2 separate regions of the Homo sapiens genome follow, and region 2 is linked to region 1. Evidence: promoter capture Hi-C in human tissues and cell types (Jung and others, 2019). All regions are on one chromosome and are shown on one strand. Each heading gives the region's core, a stretch centred on a gene start or on the middle of the fragment in contact. The rest is flanking DNA. Distances are from core to core; before and after follow the strand shown.

Region 1 (6,809 bases), core at 2,729-5,228:
AAAACAAGCAAACAAAAAACAAAAACAAACAAAAAAACATGTGTTGAGTTGCTTTCTGTTTAGTAGCAGAAAGCTCTGGAAGGGCTTTGGACATTCACGCGTGCAGGCCCGGGAACGGGATGAGGTTTAAGGCAACTTCATCTAGAGTTTAAAAGGGGCAGGTAGGCCCACAGCTGGCACGTGGGTTAAATGTAAAGTGGCTCAAACAGGATCTGATAAGGCAGAAGCAGAGATGGGGGCCTGGTGTCTCACTGCCTTCACGTTCTTCCTTCTGCCTCAGTCCCCACATGAGAGTGCACCCTAGAGGTGCCAGCATTAGCGATAGGGCAGCTTTCCTTGTTTCTGGGATGGACAGAAAATGGGCCTTGAGACCCCTCCCATCATAGGAAAGCATCTCTTGCACTCTGGAGACTGAGGACTTGCTATAGTGGAACAAGAAGCAGTCTTCGGCAATGGAGGAGATGCTGGATCTCCATACAGGCAGGGTGGGTGCAACGGAGTGGAGCTGTGGCAAATGTGGGTGCCTCTGTCCTGAGGGTCCTGGATGTGTCATGCCTGGGAACATGAGGGCGTTCTTCCAAGGTGCCCATCTCGACCTCTCTGAGCTGCCATCTTTGACTTCCTGTGTTTGGTCACAGACTAGGGGTGGTCTGTCCCTAAACAGAAGAAGACAAGCAAGGATTAGAGAGGAGAAAGAGCTAGAGAGAGAGCTTGGGAGAGATGTAGGGACAAGGAAAGAAGAGGCAGAAGGAAAAAGGCATGGAGGGAAGGAATATAAAAAAAAACCCCTTAGGCCAGGCATGGTGGCTCACGCCTGTAATTCCCGCACTTTGGGAGGCCAAGGTGGGTGGATCACCTGAGGTCATTTCAAGACCAGCCTGGCCAACATGGTGAAACCCCATCTTTACTAAAAATACAAAAATTAGCCAGGCATGGTGGTGGGTGCCTGTAATTCTAGCTACTCCGGAGGCTGAAGCAGGAGAATCGCTTGAACCCTGGAGGCAGAGGTTGCAGTAAGCTGAGATCAGGCCACTGCACTCCAGCCTGGGTGACAGAGCGAGAATCTATCTCAAAAAAAAAAAGAAAAAAGAAAAAAAGGCCGGGTGTGGTGGCTCACGCCTATAATCCTAGCACTTTGGGGGGCTGAGGAAGGTGGATCACAAGGTCAGGAGATTGAGACCATCCTGGCCAACATGGTGAAACCCCATCTCTAGTAAAATAGAAAAAATTATCTGGGTGTGGTGGTGCGCACCTGTAGTCCCAGCTACTCAGGAGGCTGAGGCAGGGGAATTGCTTGAACCCTGGAGGCAGAGGTTGAAGTGAGTCGAGATCGCGCCACTGCACTCCAGCCTGGCAACAGAGCAAGACTCCATCTAAAAAAAAAGAAAGAAAGAAAGAAAGAAAAATCCTCCCCAGAGCAGGGAAAGATGAAGACATAAAGGGAAGGAGAGTCACCAGGAAAGAGAGAGGGAGAGAGACACAAAACAAAATGGCTGGAATGAGGTGAAAGTTATAGTAGCAGGATGTGCTGACACTGACCTTGGAGAAAAAGAGAGGGGAAGGGAGGAGTGAACGTGGAATCTTTGGCTGCTGTTCTGTTTCACTCCCAGAACTCACCACCCTGGATTCCCCCCATTTCCAGATCCTCAGGCGGGACTGCCTTTGCTATCTGGGATGAGTCATTGGCCCCAGATGGTAAACCTGTGAGGGGTGGGGTGCTCTGAATGCCTGACTAGTCATTTATAATTGAGAGCACTTATTCCAGCCCCTTCTGGTCCTCCATCCTTCCCTCTTCTTGGACCTCCTGATTCAGAGAGGTCAGAGGGCCAGTCCAGGAGGGGTCAGGCACTAGGTCCCTGGAGTCAGTCTTAGGGATTTTAGGCAGAGAGGAATCAGTCCTGAAAATGAAGGGCATACAGAGAAAAAAAAAACTATGACATCACCCCTGGGGGTGTTACAGACCTAAGAAAGAAGCAATGGCCCTGGGCGGCCTACAGCCCCAGGAAGATTCAGCCATGGTACCCAGGAGACTTGAGGGCCCAAAGCCCAGAATTACCCCCAGAGGAACACCTGTAGACCTTCGGATCCTTAGCTTTGCACTTCCCATTGGACTGACTCTGTTTCCTGTGGGGCAATAGGCACGTGTTCACTGTGCACCTGCAGCCCCAGTCATCCTTCTCAGAGAGAAATGGTTTGGGAAGTGTTTGGCATATTGGGGATAAATAGATGAGTGGATAGAAAAAAAAATGCAGGCCAGGCACAGTGGCTCACGCCTGTAATCCCAGCACTTTGGGAGGCCGAGGTGGGCGGATCACGAGGTCAAGAGATCGAGACCATCCTGGCAAACATGGCGAAACCCTGTCTCTACTAAAATTACAAAAATTAGCTGGGCGTGGTGGCGCATGCCTGTAATCCCAGCTACTCGGGAGGCTGAGGCAGGAGAATCGCTTGAACCTGGGAAGCAGAGATTATAGTGAGCCGAGATCGCGCCACTGCCCTCCAGCCTGAGGGATAGAGCAAGACTGTGTCTCCAAAAAGAAGAAAGAAAAAAAAGCAATTACAGCAAAATATTAACCATAGTAGAATCTATACAGTGGTTATATAAGTGTCCACTATACAATTCTTTTTTTTTTTTTCCTTTTTTTGAGACTTGATGTTTCGATCATGGCTCACTGCAACTTTGACCTCCTCAGCTCAAGTGATCCTCTTGCCTCAGCCTCCTGACTAGCTGGGATCACAGGTGTGCACCACCATGCCTGGCTAATTGTTTTATTTTTTGTAGAGACGAGATCTCCCTATGTTGCCCATGTTGGTCCTGAACTCCTGAGCTTAAGCAGTCCTCCTGCTTTGACCTCTCAAAGTGCCGGGATTACAGGCATGAGCCACTGCACCCAGTCTTGCTATACGATTCTTTTGTTTTTTTTTTTTTTTTTTTTGAGATGGAGTCTCACTCTGTCGCCCAGGCTAGAGTGCAGTGGAGTGATCTCAGCTCACTGCAACCTCTGCCCCTCAGGTTCAAGTGATTCTCCTGCCTCAGTCTCCTGACTAGCTGGGATCACAGGCACCTGCCATCACACCCAGCTACTTTTTGTATTTTTAGTACAGATGGGGTTTCGCCATGTTGGCCAAGCTGGTCTCAAACTCCTGACCTCAGGTGATCCAGCTGCCTCAGCTTCCCAAAGTGTTGGATTATGGGTGTGAGCCACTGGGCCCAGCCACTGTACAATTCTTTAAACTTTTATATGTGTTTGGATTTTTCATAATATTAGAAAAGGGAAAGAAAAAAATGTCTGGCAAATAGTCAGCACTCGTAAGTATAAGATTTTGGGAATATATTCCCTTCTGGGAGAATCCACATTTCGAATGCCTGGGAAGGGCTCTGTTTGTCCTGACAGATGGCAGATTTCAGGTGAGAGCACCTACTAAGCCTAGAGGTGATAAGCTACTTTGCCCACCTAGAGCTGCTGGTGGTGACCTTAAGTTTACTATGTTTCTCCTGGTATACGGCACTTGGCCCAGAGTGGACTCCAGCTTGCCACCTGTCACCCAGGCTGGAGTGCAGTGGCGTGATCTTGTCTCACTGCAGCCTCAACGTCCTGGGCTCAGGCGATCTTCCCTACCTCCCTCCTGATTAGTTGAGGCTACAGGTGCTCGTCACCATGCCCGGCTAATTTTTGTTTTTGTTTTTTGTTTTGGTAGAGATGGGGTCTCACACTCTTGCCCAGGCTGAGCTAGAACTCCTGGCCTCAAGCGATCTGCCTCTGCCTCCCAAAGCATTGTAATGACAGGTGTGAGTCACCATGCCCAGCCAGGAACTCAGAGAATCTTACCCTATGCTGTAGTATCTGTTGACTATGGGGTAGAGGCAGGATAAGGTGTTCCAGACCCTGCCTGACACCTGATCCGAAGAGGTTGCTCATGTTTGCTCAGGAGGTGAGGTTCACACAATAAAGGGCAGGAGGAGGGCTTGGACCTGGTATAAAACATCTGGAAGTTTCCAGGGGGCTGCTTTGCATCTGAAACTGTCAGGTGAGGGGTGACAGAGATGCCTGAATCTGAGTTGGGGGGGAATTCAAATCTGAGCTGGCGAAGAGGATGCCTGGAAGGAATGGCAGGAAAGACTTGAGTTAATTGGCGCTTCTGGGTCTGCAGTAATCTTAGGTGCAAAGCTGTCTAGGTCTCTGCTGAAGGACTGGGGACACCTGGGATGTTCAGGAGAATAGAAATGGCCAGATGTGTGTTAGTGGAGAAAAGAATAGTGACACATAGACCAGGCACCTGGGGTCTAATATCTTGAGCTGGTCCCGACTCCTTCTGCAACTTCTCTGTCTGTCCTAGTTCCACCAGCACTGCTTGGATACTGGTGCTGGCACAGTTCCTTCTGTCACCAACTTTGCTCCCCAGGTAACATAGAGGCAACTCTAAAATGCTTCTTTCCTTGAGACCAGGTGGATGCCAGGGATTTAAACCATGCTCCAGGTGCCCCATAATCCAGGCCAATTCACCACAGATGATGAGGCTTTCTTTGCTCAGCCTCTGGGCTCAGTAAACTCAGCCATCTCTTTGCTTGGGAGAGGTCCTCTACTCCCTCCTTAGAAAACTCGTTTCCTGGCTATGGCCATACCAACCCAAATGTACCTGGGCTTGGCTGACTTCAGAAAACTTTTCTGCTTTGTGCCAGGATGGAATAAGGCTTAATCCAGATAGTTAGAGTTCATCTTCAGGCCTGAGAGAAAAAGAGGAGGGCTTGGCTACAGCCAGACCAGGGAGAGCTGGAGGGGTCAGGGACATTGAAGGTAGCATCAGAGAGGAACAGGACTACAGGCTATGGACAGTCCTTTCTAAGCTCAAGACTGGGTCTGCTAGGTCTAAGTTGAAGGACGAAGAAGGCTTGGTCTGAGCTGCAGGTCAGGAGTGCCTGGGTCAATCAAGTCAACAAGGAAGAAGGTGAATCTTCATTTGCTCTTTTCTTCCCACTCCAGCCCCAGAATGTTGACAGTCGCTCTCCTAGCCCTTCTCTGTGCCTCAGCCTCTGGCAATGCCAGTAAGTGAGATACCAGGAGCCTGGTATTGGGGACTTGGGAAGGCAGCCTTGGGCACTGCTGTTGGCCAAGGCTTTTGGAGGTTGGCTTGGGGTGGGGAGCTGAGTTGTCGGAGGAACAGGGGTGATGCAGAGAAACTGAACTCCTGGAAGATTTCTCCCTCCAACTCCTGCTTGCCCCTCCAGTTCAGGCCAGGTCTTCCTCCTATAGTGGAGAGTATGGAGGTGGTGGTGGAAAGCGATTCTCTCATTCTGGCAACCAGTTGGACGGCCCCATCACCGCCCTCCGGGTCCGAGTCAACACATACTACATCGTAGGGTAAGATTCTTTGAATTCCTGGCTGGGCGCGGTGGCTCACATCTGTCATTACAATGCTTTGGGAGGCAGAGGCAGATCGCTTGAGGCCAGGAGTTCTAGCTCAGCCTGGGCAAGATGCCAGGGATGCCAGGGATTTAAACCATGCTCCAGGTACCAAGACCCCATCTCTACCGAAGAAAAACAAAAAAATTAGCCAGGCATGGTGGTGAGTACCTGTAGCCTCAACTACTCAGGAGGGAGAGGCGGGAGGATTGCCTGAGCCCAGGATGTTGAGGCTGCAGTGAGCCAAGATCATGCCACTGCACTCCAGCCTGGGTGACAGAGTCTCTTTGTTGGCAAAATGAGTTGAAGTTCCCTGTAGGATCTTCCAGGGTTCACCCAGGCTTCACAGTCTGTAGGACTAGCCAGAGACCTCTCATCCCTATCATCACCTTTCTTTCTCCTTCCTTCCTCCCCTCTTCCTCAGTCTTCAGGTGCGCTATGGCAAGGTGTGGAGCGACTATGTGGGTGGTCGCAACGGAGACCTGGAGGAGATCTTTCTGCACCCTGGGGAATCAGTGATCCAGGTTTCTGGGAAGTACAAGTGGTACCTGAAGAAGCTGGTATTTGTGACAGACAAGGGCCGCTATCTGTCTTTTGGGAAAGACAGTGGCACAAGTTTCAATGCCGTCCCCTTGCACCCCAACACCGTGCTCCGCTTCATCAGTGGCCGGTCTGGTTCTCTCATCGATGCCATTGGCCTGCACTGGGATGTTTACCCCAGTAGCTGCAGCAGATGCTGAGCCTCCTCTCCTTGGCAGGGGCACTGTGATGAGGAGTAAGAACTCCCTTATCACTAACCCCCATCCAAATGGCTCAATAAAAAAAATATGGTTAAGGCTAGTCTGTGTGGGGGCATCTGTGGCTGGGATATCTGCCTCCTGACTTAGCCGGGGACGTGCAAATCTCACTTCTGGCTGGCTTTGGACATCTGTCTGGAAGATGGGAAGATGAGGGAGAGGTATGTAAGAATCCTGGGCTTTGTGCTATAATTTATCAAGAGGAGATGAGATTCTGGCTTGCATCAACGCTCTTCAAGGACAGCTCCTTGGAACATTGATCCAAACTGGAGTCATGGGTCTGAGGGCAAGGCCTAGTTGTGGCTTACACCAAAACCCCAGATGTCCCACTCTCCAGCTCTCCTCACCCCTGGTCCTCCCCTTGAGAAAGTGGTGAACTCACTTGCTGTGTGTGGGTGGCCAGGACCATTAGCCTTTGTTCTTTCCCAGAACCCACCTGACTCCTGAAACTTAGCTGAAGTCTGTGCCCGAGGACCCTGCCCTGTTACCAGGCCCAGTTCCTCCTCACCTCTACCCATGAGCCCCGGTGTCCTGCTAAGCCCTCTCAGATCTGGGATTCCTCCTTCCTCAGGAAGCCACCACCTTCTCAGCAGTGGAAACCCTGCCCACA
Region 2 (6,809 bases), core at 3,064-5,563, 270 kb after region 1:
GAGCCATGGCGCCCAGCCGAGATATCTTTTATTTTGTGACTGCAGTTCATGCACCCACACGTTGAATGGAAAACCTTTGCACAACACATTCTGACTTACTATATGCAGTGCCCTGTGGAATTTTCTAGACCATTTTTCCACCAAATATTGATCATGACCCATTAAGCCAATTTCACTGCCCACTAGTGGCTAAACAAGCCAAGCGGGAAAAATCTTGGTTTGGAGAGCAGTGTTTCTCAATTTTTCTTTCATTATTGTTCCCCTAAGGAGCCCTTTTTACACTTTTTTTTCTAATCGCTGCCTATCACGAAAGTTTAATAACACAGATATATTTATGTCTATTTACATATATCTTTTCCATATTAAAAAGAGTAAGTTTTTTGCCCCCTTGGGGGCGATATTATACCAGTTGAGAAGGCATCATTGTCCTAATGCTCATTTTCTGAGCCGCCTTTATTTATTTATTTACTTATTTATTTTATTTTATTTTATTTTTTTCAGATGGAGTTTTACTCTTTTGCACAGGCTGGAGTGCAGTGGCACGATCTTGTCTCACTGCAATCTGCCCCCGCTGGGTTCAAGCGATTCTCCTGCCTCAGTCTCCCAAGGCGCCCACCACCACACCCAGCTAATTTTTGTATTTTTAGTAGAGACGGGGTTTCACCATGTTGGCCAGGCTGGTCTCAAACTCCTGACCTCAAGTGATCCACCCGCTTTGGCCTCCCAAAGTGTTGGGATTACAGGCATGAGCCACCGTGCCCTGCCTCTGATCCGCCTTTATACACATCAATCCCAACATCCAATGAGATAGGATTAGTTCCATTTTGCAAGTGATTAAGTGGAAGCTGAGAGGTTATATTAATTATTGAAGATTGAAATGGCTGGCAATTAGACTGGGAATCCAGAAACTTACCAATATCCTAACTCAGCCTCTAGCTTCTCCAAACCTTTGTTTCCCCACAAAAAAAAACCTCAGTTATGGTCAGTTATGGGTGTTTTTTGTTGTTGTTATTGTTGTTGTTGTTTTTCTCTATTTGACCTAATAAGAGCAAACATTAGGCCAGGCACAGTGGCTCACACCTGTAATCGCAATGCTTTGGGAGGCCGAGGTGGGTGGATCATGAGGTCAGGAGTTTGAGACCAGCCTGACCAACATGGTGAAAGCCCATTTCTACTAAAAATACAAAAAAAATTAGCCAGGCGTGGTGGCACACGCCTGTAATCCCAGCTACTCAGGAAGCTGAGGCAGGAGAATTGCTTGAAACTGAAAGGCAGAGGCTGCAGTGAGCCGAGATCAGACCACTGCACTCCAGCCTGGTGACAGAGTAAAACTCCGTCTCCAAAAGAAAAAAAAAGCAAACATTTATAGAGCATTTACTAGACATCCGGCAGCAATCTAAGCCCTTTATATATATTAACTAACATAATATCCACAATAATCTTAAGACAGACATACTGGGGTTTTTGTTTTGTTTTGATTTTTGAGACGGGGTCTCTCATTTTGTCTCCCTTGATGAAGTACACTGGTACGATTAGCTCACTGTAACCTCAAATTCCTGTGCTCAGGGGATCCTCCTGCCTCAGCCTCCCAAGTGGCTGGGACTACAGGCTCTCAGGCTCATCACTACCAGCTTATTTTTTAAGTTTTTCCTACAGATGGGGGTCTCGATTTGTTGCCCAGGTTGGTCTCAAACTCCTGGCCTCAAGCATTCTCCTACCTTGGCCTCCCGAAGTGCTGGGATTATAGGCACAAATCACGTGTCAGGTGAGACATACTCTCAGTCACTGTTCGGATGAGGAAATTGAGGCACAGAGAGGTTGTGTGGCTTGCTCAAGGTCATGCAGGTAGAAAGTGGCACAAGCGGGGATTTGAACCAAGTAATCTGATTTTCAGAGCACAGGTTGTGCGTTTTGTTTTGTTTTTCACCATGTATTATTTTTTGAGATGGGGTTCTCACTCTGTTGCCCAGGCTGGAATGCAGTGGTGCCATCTCAGCTTCCTGCAACCTCCATTTGCCAGGCTCAAGTGATCCTCCTGCCTCAGCCTCCTGAGTAGCTGGGACCATAGGCAAGCCACCACCATGCACGGCTAATTTTTTGTATTTTTGGTAGAGACAGGGTTTCGCCATGTTGCTCATGCTGGTCTCAAACTCCTGAGCTCCAGCAATACGCCCGATCCTCCTGCCTCGGCCTCACAAAGTGCTGGGATTATAGGTGTGAACCACCATGGTTAGCATGAGCTAACCATGTCCTTTTTTTTTTTTTTTTAACTCTGTCTCCCAAGCTAAAGTGCAGTGGTGCGATCTCAGCTCACTGCAACCTCCGCCTCCCAGGTTCAAGCGATTCTCCTGCCTCAGCCTCTGGAGTAGCTGGGATTACAAGTGTGTGCCATCACACTTGGCTAATTTTTGTATTTTTAGTAGAGATGGGGTTTCACCATGTTGCCCAGGCTGGTCTCAAACTCCCGACTTCAAGTGATCTGCCTGCCTCACACCTCCCAGAGTGCTGGGATTACAGGCATGAGCCACAGTGCTAAACTAACCATGTACTTTATTTTCTTTCATTTGAGATGAAGTTTCGCTCTTGTTGCCCAGGCTGGAGGGCAATGGTGCGATCTCGGCTCACTGCAACCTCCGCCTCCTGGGTTTAAGCTATTCTCCTGCCTCAGCCTCCCGAGTAGCTGGGATTACAGGTGCCTGCCACCACACTCGGCTAATTGTTTGTATTTTTTTTAGTAGAGACAGGGTTTCAACCTGTTGCCCAGGCTGGTCTCAAACTCCTGACCTCAGGCGATCTGCCTGCCTTGGCCTCCCAATGTGCTGGGATTACAGAAGTAAGCCACTGTGGCTACCATGTACTTTAAAAGGAAACTTTTTATCACTCTGGAAAATAGAAAACCAGTACCACCTGTGATAAACAGAAGGTAACAAAAAATATACAAAATGAAAACACATTTTATAACATTCTAGCTAGATACTATGGGCAGCTGCTCATTCTGAACTGGAGGCTGGCTCTCTCCTTGTTCAAAAAAGAAAGATCAGGCCGGGCGCAGTGGCTCAAGCCTGTAATCCCAGCACTTTGGAGGCCGGCGGGCGGCGGGGGGGTGCGGATTAACTAAGGTCAAGGGTTCGAGACCAGCCCCTGGCCAATATGGTGTAACCCCATCTCTACTAAAAATATAAAAATTAGCCGGGCGTGGTGGCATGCACCTGTAATCCCAGCTAGTCAGGAGGTTGAGGCAGAAGAATTGCTTGAACCCAGGAGGTGGAGATTTCAGTGAGCCAAGATCGTGTCACTGTACTCCAGCCTGGGCGACAAAGCAAGACTCCATCTCAAAAAAAAAAAAAAAAAAAAAAAAAAAGAACAAAAAGATAAGCACAGAGAGAAAGGTGTTAAAGGGTTTCTGGCAGCAAATTGAGAGTTTCTCCTGCAGTAATCAGAAGCGTTGAAAGGGAATTGGAAAGAGAAAGAGAGTAGCTTGTTCAGGGTGTGTGTGTGGTGTGTGTGTGATGTGTGTGGTGTGTGTGTGGTGGGGTGTGTGTGGGGTGGGTGTATGGGGTGTGTGTGTGGTGTTTGTGTGTGTTTGTGTGTGTGGTGTGTGTGTGTGTGGTTTGTGTGTGTGGTGTGCGTGGGTATGGTGTGTGTGGTGTGTGGTGTGTTTGTGTAGTGTGTGTGGTGTGTGTGTGGTGCATGTGTGGTGTGTGTGTATTTGTGTGTGTGGTATGTGTGTTTGTGTGGTGTGTATGGTGTGTGTGTGTGGTGTGTGTGGTATGTGTGGTGTGTGTGTGTGGTGTATGTGGTGTGTGTGTGGTGTATGTGGTATGTGTGTGGTGAGTGGTGTGTGTGTTTGTGTGGTGTGTGTGTGTATTTGTGTGTGGTATGTGTGTTTATGTGGTGTGTGTATGGTGTGTGTGTTGATGTGTTTGGTGTGTGTTTGTGTGTGTGTGTGTTGTGTGTGTTTGTGTGTGTGGTGTGTGTTTGTGTGTGTGTGTGTCTTCTTGCTGACATACCACCTAAAATAAACCCAAGATGGGATGCACCACATACTCTGAACCCTTGTCGGGTGGTCAATGGGTGTTCAGGACATCCCAGCAGAGGAAGGGAGACACACCAGCCTGTCCTGGCCTGGGTGTGCAGCCAGAAAGCATGGGGCCAGGCTGGGCAACACAGTGAGACCTCCTCTCTACAAAAAGTCAAAAAAATTAGCTGGGCGTGGTGCTGTGTGCCTGTAGTCCCAGCTACTTAGGAGGCTGAGGTGAGAGGATCGCTTGAGCTAGGGAGGTGGAGGCCACAGTGAGCCATGATCGCGCCACTGCACTCCAACCTGGGTGACAGAGGGAGACCCTGTCTCAAAAACAAAACAAAAACAAACAAAACATAGAGCATTAGGCAGTCCACCACGTGTGGAGGGGCAGTGCAGGGCAGGGGTATAGGAGGGCCCATCCAAGCCTCTGTGACTTTGGCCACCATCTTTCCTTCCCCTAGCCTGTCTCCCCAGGTGAGTTTCACCCCCAGGCAGTCCTTAGAGACCCGCCACCCAATTTACCCTTGGCCTTGAGTTTACCGTTCTCTGTTCTTCCAGGTTCTGCCGCCCACAGGCTGTTTCACTCATCCTCTCCACCGGGTGCCCTGCGGAGGTGTGCAAGTGTGATATCATCAAAGGCTGTGAATAAGTAAACAATAAGTGGCCAGAAGTGGCCTGTTTCCCACATGATACCCAGGGAAGGGTCCGATTCCCCCCGCCTGGGCTCTGGGGCAAGTCCTGGCTGGCGTGCCAGAGCATTTATTATTTAGTATTTTTACTTACCTGTCCCAGGTTAGGGACTGTCCCAAGCAATGCCAGTCCCACCCTCTATCTGCACACCAGAAAAAGCTGAGGGCACAGCAGGTGATTGGAGTCAGACAGCTAAGGGTCCAATCCCTTTCTTCTCACATAGACTGGCTGTGTGACCTTGGCCAAATTTCACAACCTCTCTGAGCCTCCACTGAGCACACACCAAGTCCCATTGCCAGGCCTAAGTCCTGCTTCTGCCAGTCACTAGCCTGGCATCCTTGTGCAAGGGATTCAACTCCTCTGAGCCTTGGGCTCCTCATCAATGAAACAGCAGCACCTCTACCTGGGGCTGCTGGGGTGATTAAATGAGATCTGTGTAAAGCACAGTTGCTATACACATACGCATTGTGATATTCATTAATAGTCATTCAAAATGTATATATTTAGAGATGAGATCTCGATCTGTCGTCCAGGCTGGAGTGCAGTGGCATGATCATGGCTCCCTGTAGCCTTGAACTCCTGGGCTCAACTGATCCTCCCTCTTCAGCCTCCTAAGTAGCTAGAATTACAGGCATGAGCCACCATGCCCTGCCTGTTGTGTCATCTGTCTGTCTGTCTGTCTGTCTGTCTGTCTGTCTATCTATCTATCTATCTATCTATCTAGCGCAATCTCGGCTCATTGCAACCTCTGCCCCCAGCGGTCAAGCAATCTTCCCACCTCAGCCTCCTGAGTAGCTGGGGCTACAAGCATGTGCCACCGTGCCTGGCTAATTTTTGCTTTTTGGTTTTGGGTTTTTTTCTTTTTTTGAGATGGAGTCTTCCTCTGTCACCCAGGCTGGAGTCCAGTGGTGCAATCTCAGCTCACTGCAACCTCTGCCTCCCAGGTTCAAGCAATTCTCCTGCCTCAGCTTCCTGAGTATCTGGGATTACAGGCACGTGCCGCCATGCTCGGCTAATTTTTGTATTTTTAGTAGAGACAGGGTTTTACCATGTTGGCCAGGCTGGTCACGAACTCCTGACCTCAAGTGATCCGCCTGCCTCGGCCTCCCGCAGTGCTGGGATTACAGGTGAGAGCCACCACACCCAGCCTAATTTTTGTATTTTTTGTAGAGACTGGGTATTCATCATGTTGGCCAGGCTGGTCTCAAACTCCTGACCTCAGGTGATCCACCCGCCTCAGCCTCCCAAAATGCAGGGATTACAGGTGTGAGCCACTGTACGTGGCCTATAATTTTTTTTTTTTTTGAGATAGTGTCTCACTCTGTTGCCCATGCTGGAGTGGAGTGGTGTAATCATAGCTCACTGTAGTCTCAAACTCCTGGGCTCAGCCCTGGCGTGGTGGCTCACGCCTGTAATCCCAGCCCTTTGGGAGGCCAAGGCGGGTGAATTACCTGAGGTCAGAAGTTCAAGACCAGCCTGGTCAACATGGTGAAACCCTGTCTCTACTAAATATACAAAAATTAGCTGGGCGTGGTGGCGGGTGCCTGTAATCCCAGCTACTTAGGAGACTGAGGCAGAAGAATCGCTTGAACCCAGAAGGCAGAGGTTGCAGTGAGTCAAGATCGCACAACTGCACTCCAGCCTGGGCAACAAGAGTGAAACTTCGCCTCCAAAAGAAAAAAAAAAAACCACCACCAACAACAACAAACAAAAAAACTCCTGGGCTCAAGAGATTCTTCCACCTCAGCTTCCCAAGTAGTTGGACCATAAATACACATGAAAATTAGAAAACATGCATGTCTAATTTTTCTTTTTTTTTTGTAGAGATGGAGTTCACTATGTTTCTGAGGCTGGTCTTGAACTCCTGGGCTCAACCGATCCTTTCACCTCAGCTTCCCAAAGTGCTGGGGGATTGCAGGCATGAACCACTGCACCTGGCTATATATTTTAATGAGCCTTCATTCTATGCCATGTGCCTTGCATACATTTTCTCAAATAATCACAGAAAGCCCTGCCAGTCCCTGAGGGTTATCCCCACTTTCCACATGAGTACAACTGAGGCTCAGTGAGGTCAATTGACTTGTCCAGGGTTGCA

Evidence for each region. The method cuts DNA at HindIII sites, captures the fragments that hold promoters and counts their contacts. A contact is called where the count stands out against the background at its distance.
Region 2: a fragment that was not itself captured here is called in contact with the fragment with the promoter of ZG16 in region 1 in 1 of the 25 tissues and cell types used here (spleen).

What each region holds. Positions count from the first base shown.
Region 1 is chr16:29,774,278-29,781,086 of GRCh38, forward strand. It overlaps ZG16 (zymogen granule protein 16), which reads left to right and starts at 3,979. Exons shown (of 4, transcript NM_152338.4): 1 at 3,979-4,029; 2 at 4,983-5,044; 3 at 5,228-5,360; 4 at 5,827-6,809. The coding sequence starts at 4,990. The coding sequence ends at 6,142. RefSeq lists an enhancer at 1,491-1,785. The HindIII fragment of the contact is 7,779 bases long and covers 1-5,166 here.
Region 2 is chr16:30,041,759-30,048,567 of GRCh38, forward strand. It overlaps a transcript of TLCD3B not described here. Among named protein-coding and RNA genes, the nearest start is that of TLCD3B, 14 kb to the left of the region's middle. The HindIII fragment of the contact is 9,203 bases long and covers 1-6,809 here.